2 separate regions of the Homo sapiens genome follow, and region 2 is linked to region 1. Evidence: promoter capture Hi-C in 16 types of primary human blood cells and fetal thymus (Javierre and others, 2016). All regions are on one chromosome and are shown on one strand. The core of a region is centred on a gene start or on the middle of the fragment in contact, and the rest is flanking DNA. Distances in the headings are between cores, read along the strand shown.

What was found. Contacts are between HindIII fragments. The CHiCAGO score rates a contact against its expected background, and 5 or more counts as called.
Region 2: a fragment that was not itself captured here is called in contact with the fragment with the promoter of NHLRC1 in region 1 in 1 of 17 cell types (megakaryocytes); the score reaches 5.8 in megakaryocytes.

Annotation. Positions count from the first base shown.
Region 1 is chr6:18,121,427-18,126,016 of GRCh38, forward strand. NHLRC1 (NHL repeat containing E3 ubiquitin protein ligase 1) reads right to left here and starts at 1,251. Exons shown (of 1, transcript NM_198586.3): 1 at 1-1,251. The coding sequence starts at 1,180. The HindIII fragment of the contact is 6,107 bases long and covers 555-4,590 here.
Region 2 is chr6:18,037,800-18,042,321 of GRCh38, forward strand. No RefSeq gene overlaps it. Among named protein-coding and RNA genes, the nearest start is that of KIF13A, 52 kb to the left of the region's middle. The HindIII fragment of the contact is 5,573 bases long and covers 97-4,522 here.

The sequences.
Region 1 (4,590 bases), core at 1-2,500:
AGTCAACTTTATAGACTTTTATAGAATGAGATGCTGTGTCCAGCACAAGAAGAGAATTCTCCTTGGTGAAGGTAAGAGCCACAGGATGCGAAAGACCATGAGTGACCATGGGCTTCGGTACTGGAAACTCCTCAGGTTTTCCTAAGCAAAGGATAGCTGGACCAGATGTATCTGCAACAATCACATTTCCCTGGTGATCAAAGGTCACAGCGGAGGCAGTTATTTTGGAGGGAAAGTAGAGGCTCAGCCCAAAGGTATCCACTTGGCCGACAAGCTGCATACTTGAGCTAAACACTTTCACCCTGGTGCTGCAAACCCCAGTCCCCAGGGCCAGGGGGTGCTCCAGGACCGCAATGGCCCCGGTGAGCCAAGACACTGCCACCCCTCGGGGATTGCACAGATGAGCTTGCAACCTTTCAGTTCTCCGAAGGACCCCTTCCGCGAAGTCGACGTCCAGGAGGTGCAGGGACCCTGCCTCCGCATCAGTTACCACAATCCCATTCTGAGGGGTGGTCTCCACACCCCAAGGTAAGGAGAATTGGCCTCCAATGACAAGCTTGATCTGGCCAAAAAAATCAAACACTTTGATGGAGCGATCGCCGGCGTCAGTGACAACCACATGGCAGTCGTTGGTGATGGTGACATCCACAGGGTACCTAATGTCTTGGGCAGCGTCCCCCTTCTCTCCAAACTGATGCGCGCATCCTCCCCCTGAGTCAAAAATCTTGACACGCCTCCTGCCGTCGTGCACCACCACGACACGCCCCGTCTTGGGACAAAGCGCCAGTCCGGTGGGGTTGACCAGGGTCCCCCAGCCGCCGAAGGTGTGGTGGCAGGTGAGGGCTCCGGGGGCGCTGGGGGCGGCGCGATGGGCGGCCGGGGACTGGCGAAGCGCTGAGCCCAGGAGCTCTATGAGGTGCAGCACCGGCAGGCAGTCGCTGGTGTCGCAGCCCCGGCAAGCTCGCCTGCAGAATGGGCACTCGAGGGCCAGAGTGCGCGGGTGCGCCAGGGCGGCCACGCAGGCCAGGCAGACCACGTGGCCGCAGGACAGGTTGCGCGGGCGCCGCTGCTGCCGGTGGCCAAACTTCTCAAAGCACACCTTGCACTCGAGCAGGCTGATCTCCGCCTCGCGCATGAGCTCATGCAGCGCTGGCCCGCTCTCCGAGGCTTCGGCCGCCATGGCGCGTCCTGTGCACTCCCGCCGCGCCGCCTGGCCGTGCCCCAGCGACGCTCTCGGTCACGGTCACAGTCATGGTCACGGGGTGGGACGTGCGCCCTGACGTCGAGCGCCGCGGGCCTCTGCACTGCGATCTGCTGCCCCTTGGTGGGCACGCGCGGCACTGTTTCCTGAGGGCCTGATGGTGGACGTTTGCAAGACAAATCCACATGCGCGTTGTGTAGACCTGTAATCGTCACAGCAGTCATGGATGGATTGTGTACACTTTCAGATGAGGAAACACACCTATTGAGGACAACAGGATTGCTCCCTGTCACCCAGCCTGTAAGCGGCAAAACAAGAACTAGAACCCAATCTTCCAGCCCGGGTGCCTAGCAGTGTCTCCAATCCGCAGCGCCGGGTGCTACGGCTGTCCGGGCATAAAACATGGTCCCTTAGCTCATGATGCTTATGATCTGAACCGGAAAACACGAACACACTAGAGAAGATAAACTCCAAGGGAGGTGAGGCAGATGTGTACATTTCTTTTGTGTCTTCTGTCATACTCATAGTTAAGTCAATGTTAGATGAATACATACTTGTAAAATGAATTTGTGCATGAATGAATGTTATAGAACAACAACAACAACAAAAAAAAATCAACGAGGTGAATGAGTGTCAGATGGGGCAACCATGCTGGAAGTGTCTTGCAGAGTAATTAATATGAAATAAGAAAGCTGTTAGTTAATAATAATTACCATAGAACTTCATTTTTTTGTTTTTTAAGACAAAGTCTCACTCTGTCACCCAGGCTGGAGTGCAGGGGCACGATCACAGCTCACTGCAGCCTCCATCTCCCAGGCTCAAGCAATCCTCCCACTTCAGTAGCTGGGACTACAGGCATGCACCATCACACTAGGCTAATTTTTTAATTTTTTTGTAGAGAGGAGGTCTCACTATGTTGCCTAGGCTGGTCTTGAACTTGTGAAAATTGTTCACATTCCTCCCCACCCCTTGGCCTCCCAAAGTGCTGGTGTGAGCCACTGTGCCCAGCCTATGGAATTCACATATGCCTGCCCCATTGTGTTAGGTTGGTGAAAAGGATTCGCAGTGTTTGCCATCACTTTTAATGGCAAAACCGTGATTACTTTTGCAGCAAATTAATAAATAATTTACATAGATTATCTTGTTTAAACCTCATAGCAATCCTACAAAAATATGTTATTTTTATTGTCTTTTTTTCTGATAGAATTCATAGAAATCAAATATCTTGCCCAGGGTCACATGGCTAGGAAGTGGCTGGCCTGGAATTTGAAGCCAGGCAGTTTGACTTCAGAGTTACCTATTTTAGTCATTTTCAAACTTCTTTGCACATGGTAAACACCTGGGTCGCACCCGAAAAGTTTAATTGGCCCATGGTGTGGTCTGGACAGCTGGGATTTATAAAAGCTCCCCAGGTGATTATAATGTACAGCCAAGTTTGAGAAACACTGCATTATAATAATTCCCTCAAATGACACTAAGTTCAGTTTTTCCAATCTCAGTTAAGACCAAAAACAAAGAGAATTTGCCATATGTTGGAAAATCTTCAAACAAGGGATAGCATAATCTGTGTGAAGAATCCATTGTGGTATTATAATCTCTCATTTTTCTTTTTCTTTCTTTTTTTTTTTTTTCTTTTTGAGACAGAGTCTTGCTCTGTCACCAGGCTGGAGTGCAGTGGCGCGATCTCGGCTCACTGCAGCCTCCACCTCCTGGGTTCAGGCGGTTCTCCCACCTCAGCCTCCTGAGTAGCTGGGATTACAGGCACCCGTGACCATGCCTGGCTAAGTTTTGTATTTTTAGTAGAGATGAGGTTTCACCATGTTGGCCAGGCTGGTCTCAAACTTCTGACCTTTCGCGTCAGCCTCCCAAAGTGCTAGGATTACAGGCATGAGCCACCGTGCCTGGCCCTAAACTCTTATTTTTAAGGGGTTCTCCCTCAAATGTCTTATGTGAACATTGTGCTTAACAAAACCTTGTATTAGAGAATTTCTTTTCCTTTAGAGATCATAATCATGAACATTCACCTTCTGATTTGCTAGATTTCTGAGAAAACACAATATTTTATCCCCTGTTGAGGCCCCTGGAAAGAGCTTTAATGTAAGACAAGAAAGAACATTTTCTAATCAAATGTCATTTGACTCAAAGATTGCGTACTGGGACACAATAACCAACTTAATAATTTCTGACTACATTTCCATCCCAAATAAACAACCAACTAAAATCACATTATTTATGCAATCACACCATTGCATAATTGATTAATAACAAATATGTCTTGAATCTCACTCTGACATTTGGCATTTCCTATGACTATCATTTCCTCCTCCATGGCTGGGCCTCCATGGATTTACCCTGTGCTTCCCTCCGATATTCCTTCTATAGAGGGTCCTGGACTAGCATGCCCATCTTTTCCTGCTTCCACCTAGAACAAGCCCTGAGAGTTGTGGGGGCAAAGGGCTTGAAGAGCAGAACGTCTAGTTTCCAAAGTGGTCAATGGCTGCCCTATGAAAAAGTACCATACTATAGTGGAAGGAGAGTGGGGACCCAGCTCAGGATGGTTCCAGCAGAGAAGAGAGCACAGGGGGAGCATGAGTTAGGGGGAGTCAGTGCTTAGACAGGTGGGCTCCTGGTTGTGCAGGTGGGGCAAATGTGCCAGACACATGCAGTTTAGAAGGAATCCCAGAACAAGTTTAATGATCCAATTACAACTCAGACTACCTGACAATGATGTAAGGGAAAGGAAGATGAACAAGCCACACAGAATGGGCTTTGCTTCCAGCCTTGCCCTCCTCCCAGGGGCGTCTCTGACCACCACTCTAATTTTTAAGCTCCATGTTCTTGGCATCTCAGGGGTGAGGGATGTGGTGGCAAGAGGAAGAATGGCTGTTTTTGAATTTTTTGAGTAAGTCCATACAAAAATGAGTGGAGATGTATGTTTGGAAATGGGGATCTAGAGATTTGAGTGCATCTCAAGTTCAATGCAATTGAGTGTTCCTCAGGGTGCCACCTTCAGTCTTTTTCTCTTAGCTTCCTACCTGTTTCCCTGAGCAATGCCATCTTCACTTCCTCGTGGTTTAAATGACCAGTTATAAGCTGACAGCTCCCTGCCTGTACCCCTAAGACAGCCATACCATATGAAGTTCAATGTTCAGTCCCTACCCCTACAACCTGTGATGCCTGAGAAAAGGATTATCTTCAATAATCAATAAACCTTTATCTGCTAGCACACCCAATAGTACTTAAATTGCTGAATGAATGCTGACTCTAATAGCAGGAGAAAGACTAAATAATAATTGTACTGCCACATTACAACATTATACAGCTATTTAAAAATCTTGCTTTTGAAAAATATTTAGTGACACTGTTACCAGTAGAAGGTTTGACTACAA
Region 2 (4,522 bases), core at 1,633-4,132, 82 kb before region 1:
TAGGTAACAGAAAAAGCACTGACAAAATTCACCACCCTTTTAAGATAAAATTTCTCAACAAACTAGAAGCAGAAGAGAATTTCCTCAACATAATAAAGCTTAGCTATTAAAAAAAAAATCCACAGCTAACATCAGACTTAATGATGACAGACTGAATGCTTTTCCTCTAAGATTAAGAACAAGACAGGGACGTTCACTCTTAACCACCTTTTAAAAATTAGAGACAGAGTCTTGCTCTGTCACCCAGAATGAACTGCAGTGGCACAATCATGGCTTACTGCAGCCTCAAATTGCTACTCAAGCAATCCTTCCACCTCAGCCTCCTGAGTAGCTGGGATTACAGGTGTGTACCACCACACATGGCTAAAACTGTTACCACTTCATTTAACATTGTGCTGAAGGTCATAGAAAAATTAAGCAAGAAAAAGTAAAAACTACCTCCATCGTTAAGAAAGTGAAAAGATACACAGTGGAAGAAAATATTTGCTTACAATATATGTGTTAAGTAAATTATATCTAATATATAAAGAACTCTTACAACTTAATAAAAAGACAACCCTTTTTATTTTTGAGACAGGGTCTCACTGTTGCCCAGGCTGGAGTGCAGTGATGCAATCATAGTTCACTGTAACCTTGAACTCCTGGGCTCAAGTGATCCTCCTGTTTCAGCCTCTTGAATAGCTAGGGCTACAGGTACATGCCATCATGCCCAGCAATTTTTTTTTTTTTTTTGTAGAGACAGGGTCTCACTATGTTGCCCAAGCTGATCTTGAACTCCTTGCCTCAAGCCATCATCCAGCCTCAGACTCCCATAGTGATGAGTTTACAGGTGTAAGCCACTATGCCCAGCCCAGTTTCTTAAATGAGCAAAATATTTGAATAGAATTTTCTTCAAATAAATATGTAGGTTGGGCACGGGGCTCACGCCTGTAATCCCAGCACTTTGGGAGGCCGAAGCAGTGGATCACTTGAGGTAAGGGGTTTGAGACCAGCCTGGCCAACATGGTGAAACCCTGTCTCTACTAAAAATACAAAAAATTAGCCAGGCATAGTGGTGCACACCTCTAATCCCAGCTACTTGGGAGGCTGAGGCAGGAGAATTGCTTGAACCCAGGAGGCAGAGGCTGCAGTGACCTGAGATCATGCCATTGCACTTTAGCCTGGGCGACAGAGCGAGACTCTGTCTCAAGAGAGAGAAAAAAAAGAAATATACAAATGACTAATAAGCAATGAAAAAATGCTCAACATCATTAGTCATTAGGGAAATGCAAATCAAAACCCCAGTGAGAAACTACTGCATGAATTATTATAATCAAAAAGACAGGTAACAAGTGTTTGTGAGGATGTGAAGAAATTGGAGCCCTCATTCAGTGCTAGGGGGATTGTAAATAGTACAGCTACTTTGGAAAATTATTTGGCAGTTGCTTAAACAGTTAAGCATAAAGTTACCATATGACTCAGCATTTTTATTCTTATGAATATACCCAAGATAATTGAAAATACATGTCCTCACAAAAATGTGCACATGAATGTTCATAGCATTATTTGTAATAGTCAAAAAGTGAAAATAACCAAATGTTCATGAGTGAATAAACAAAATATGGTATATCCACACAATGGAATATTACTTGGCAATTAAAATAAATGAAGTACTAATACATGCTGACACACAGATCAATCTTGAAAGCATTATGTTAAGTGAAAGAAGCCAGACCTCAAAAGTCATGTATTATAATATTCCATTTATATGAAATGTCCAGAACAGACAAATCCATAGAGAGAGAAAATCGATTAGTGTTTGTTAGGGGCTGGAAGGGGTGGGAATAGTAGTAACTACTTATGAGTATTGGGTTTCTTTCTGGGGTGATGAAAGTGTTCTGGAATTAGATAGTGGTTATGATTGAACATTGTGAAAACACTAAAACCACATTGTGTATTTTAATTTGTATACTGTAAGAGGGCGAGTTTTATGGTATGTGAATTATATCTCAGTGAAGATGTCATTTAAAAATTATAGTGGTGGGAGGCCGAGGCAGGCAGATCACCTGAGGTCAGGAGTTTGAGACCAGCCTGGCCAACATGGTGAAACCCCATCTCTACTGAAAATACACAAATTAGCCAGGTGTAGTGGCACGCGCCTGTAATCCCAGCTATTTGGGAGGCTGAGGCATGAGAATCGCTTGAACCTGAGAGGCAGAGGTTGCAGTGAGCTGAGATCACACCACTGCACTCCAGCCTGAGGGAGAGAGTGAGACTCTGTCTCAAAGAAAAAAAAAATTATCTATCTATCTATAGTGGGACATCATCAGAATTAAGCAGAAGAATGGTATGATTTATGCTTTTAAAAAACGAGCTGCTATATGGGGTAGACTGGGGACCGAGGGAAAAGCAAGTGGAGACACCAGTCTGGAGATGGGAGCAGCAGTGAATGTGAAAAACCATGACGTCTAAGACTAATAACAGTGGTGGTGATGGAGACAAGGGGGAATAATTGAGATATATTTTGAAGGGTGAACCTACTGGATTACTTTTGGATTACACGTGGAGAGTGAGAGACTAGGAGGTATTAGGAATGATTCATAAGTTTCTAACTTGGACAACTAAATGGAGAGTGATATTCACCCTTTGAAAAAGTTCATTTTTGTTTCTCCAAAGCCCTATGAATAAGTCATACTCTAAACATTCAATAGATCAAGAAATCGAAGATTAAAAACTTGTTAGCCAGGTGCGGTGGCTCATGCCTGTAATCCTAGCACTTTGGGAGGCTAAGGCGGGTGGATTGCCTGAGCTCAGGAGTTCGACACCAGCCTGGGCAACATGGTGAAACTCCATTTCTACTAAAATACAAAAAATGGGCTGGGCGCAGTGGCTCACACCTGTAATCCCAGCACTTTGGGAGGCCGAGGCAGGCAGATCATGAGGTCAGGAGATCAAGACCATCTTGGCTAACACAGTGAAACCCCATCTCTACTAAAAAAATACAAAAAAATTAGCCAGGCGTGGTGGCAGGCGCCTGTAGTCCCAGCTATTGAGAAGCTGAGGTAGGAGAATGGCATGAACCCAAGAGGCTGAGCTTGCAGTGAGCCAAGATCGCACCACTGCACTCCAGCCTGGGCGACAGAGTGAGACTCTGTCTCAAAAAAAAAAAAAAAAAAACCCAAAAACACAACAACAACAACAACAAAACTTAGCCAGGTGTGGTGGCGTATACCTGTAGTCCCAGCTACTCAGCAGGCTGAGGAGAAGAATTGTTTGAACCTGGGAGGCAGAGGTTACAGTGAGCTGAGATCGCACCACTGCCCTCCAGCCTGGGCTACAGAGCTAGACTCTGTCCCTCCCACCAAAAAAAAAACCCAAAAGACAGTTGTTAAACCGTTAAACCAATTTCTTCCCAAATCAAACAGCTAGAAAGGAGGGGGATGTCAGAGTTGGGACTCCTTTCTAATATGGAAGTTCATGTGCTTTTCACTGAGCAATTTGTTCCTTGTGTTCTCTCTAATAGGCCTGAAGATGTGCATTACATTAAGAATTTACATTTAAGAATATAACATTTACAGAAGATAAAAAAAATTTTTTTAAATACACTGATGTACACTTTTTGCTTTAAAAAAAAAGATGGATATGCGGAAATTTGTAGCCTGATTGTTGACTAAGTTGAGGAATCTTTTGCTATGTAAGAAAATAAATTCCACAGTTCAGTGGGTTAGATACACAATTTTTGGATTTGACAGCTAAAATTATTTGTTCCCTCTGAATGCTGGTTTTTTTTTTTAAGTGCTTTTCTTGGCTTGGTATAACTGGCCTCTATTATTAATGTCCACATTCACTTTTGGACTAATATTTCATTCTTAGGCAAACCAATGTCATTAAAATAGAAGAAAGAGCTCTTATAGAGGCTCTACTCTGCTCCCCAGGTATCAAAGAAGGGCATCTTCAAGAGGGAAATTAGAGTGAGAATTCAGAGAATTGAAAAAGTGAGGAAAGTATAAGGGAAGAGTTTCTCAATCTTTTTTTTTTTTTTTTTTTTTTTTTTTTGAGATGGAGTTTCGCTCTTGTTGCCCAGGCTGGAGTGCAATGGCGCAATCTCAGCTCACTGCAACCTCCGCTTCCTGGTTCAAGTGATTCCTGCCTCAGCCTCCCAAGTAGCTGGGATTACAGGCACGTGCCACCACGTCTGGCTAATTTTTTGTATTTTTAGTAGCGATGGAGTTTCACCATGTTGGCCAGGCTGGTCTTGAACTCCTGACCTCAGGTGATCCACCTGCCTCAGCCTCCCAAAGTGTTGAGATTACAGGCGTGAGCCACCGTGCCTGGCCAGTTTCTCAATCTTTTTAAACCTTTGCCCTCTTAGATAAAACTGCACTTCAACTTCACACATGCTCCATCCTCACCCAGCTGAGATTCTGACATAGATTTCCAGGGTCATATCATCCTCAGTGGTTTGCTGCCAGCCAAGATTCATGAAACTTCACATTTGGCACTTTGTATTACTTTAAAATTTTCCAGTAGAAGTTTGTGTTAG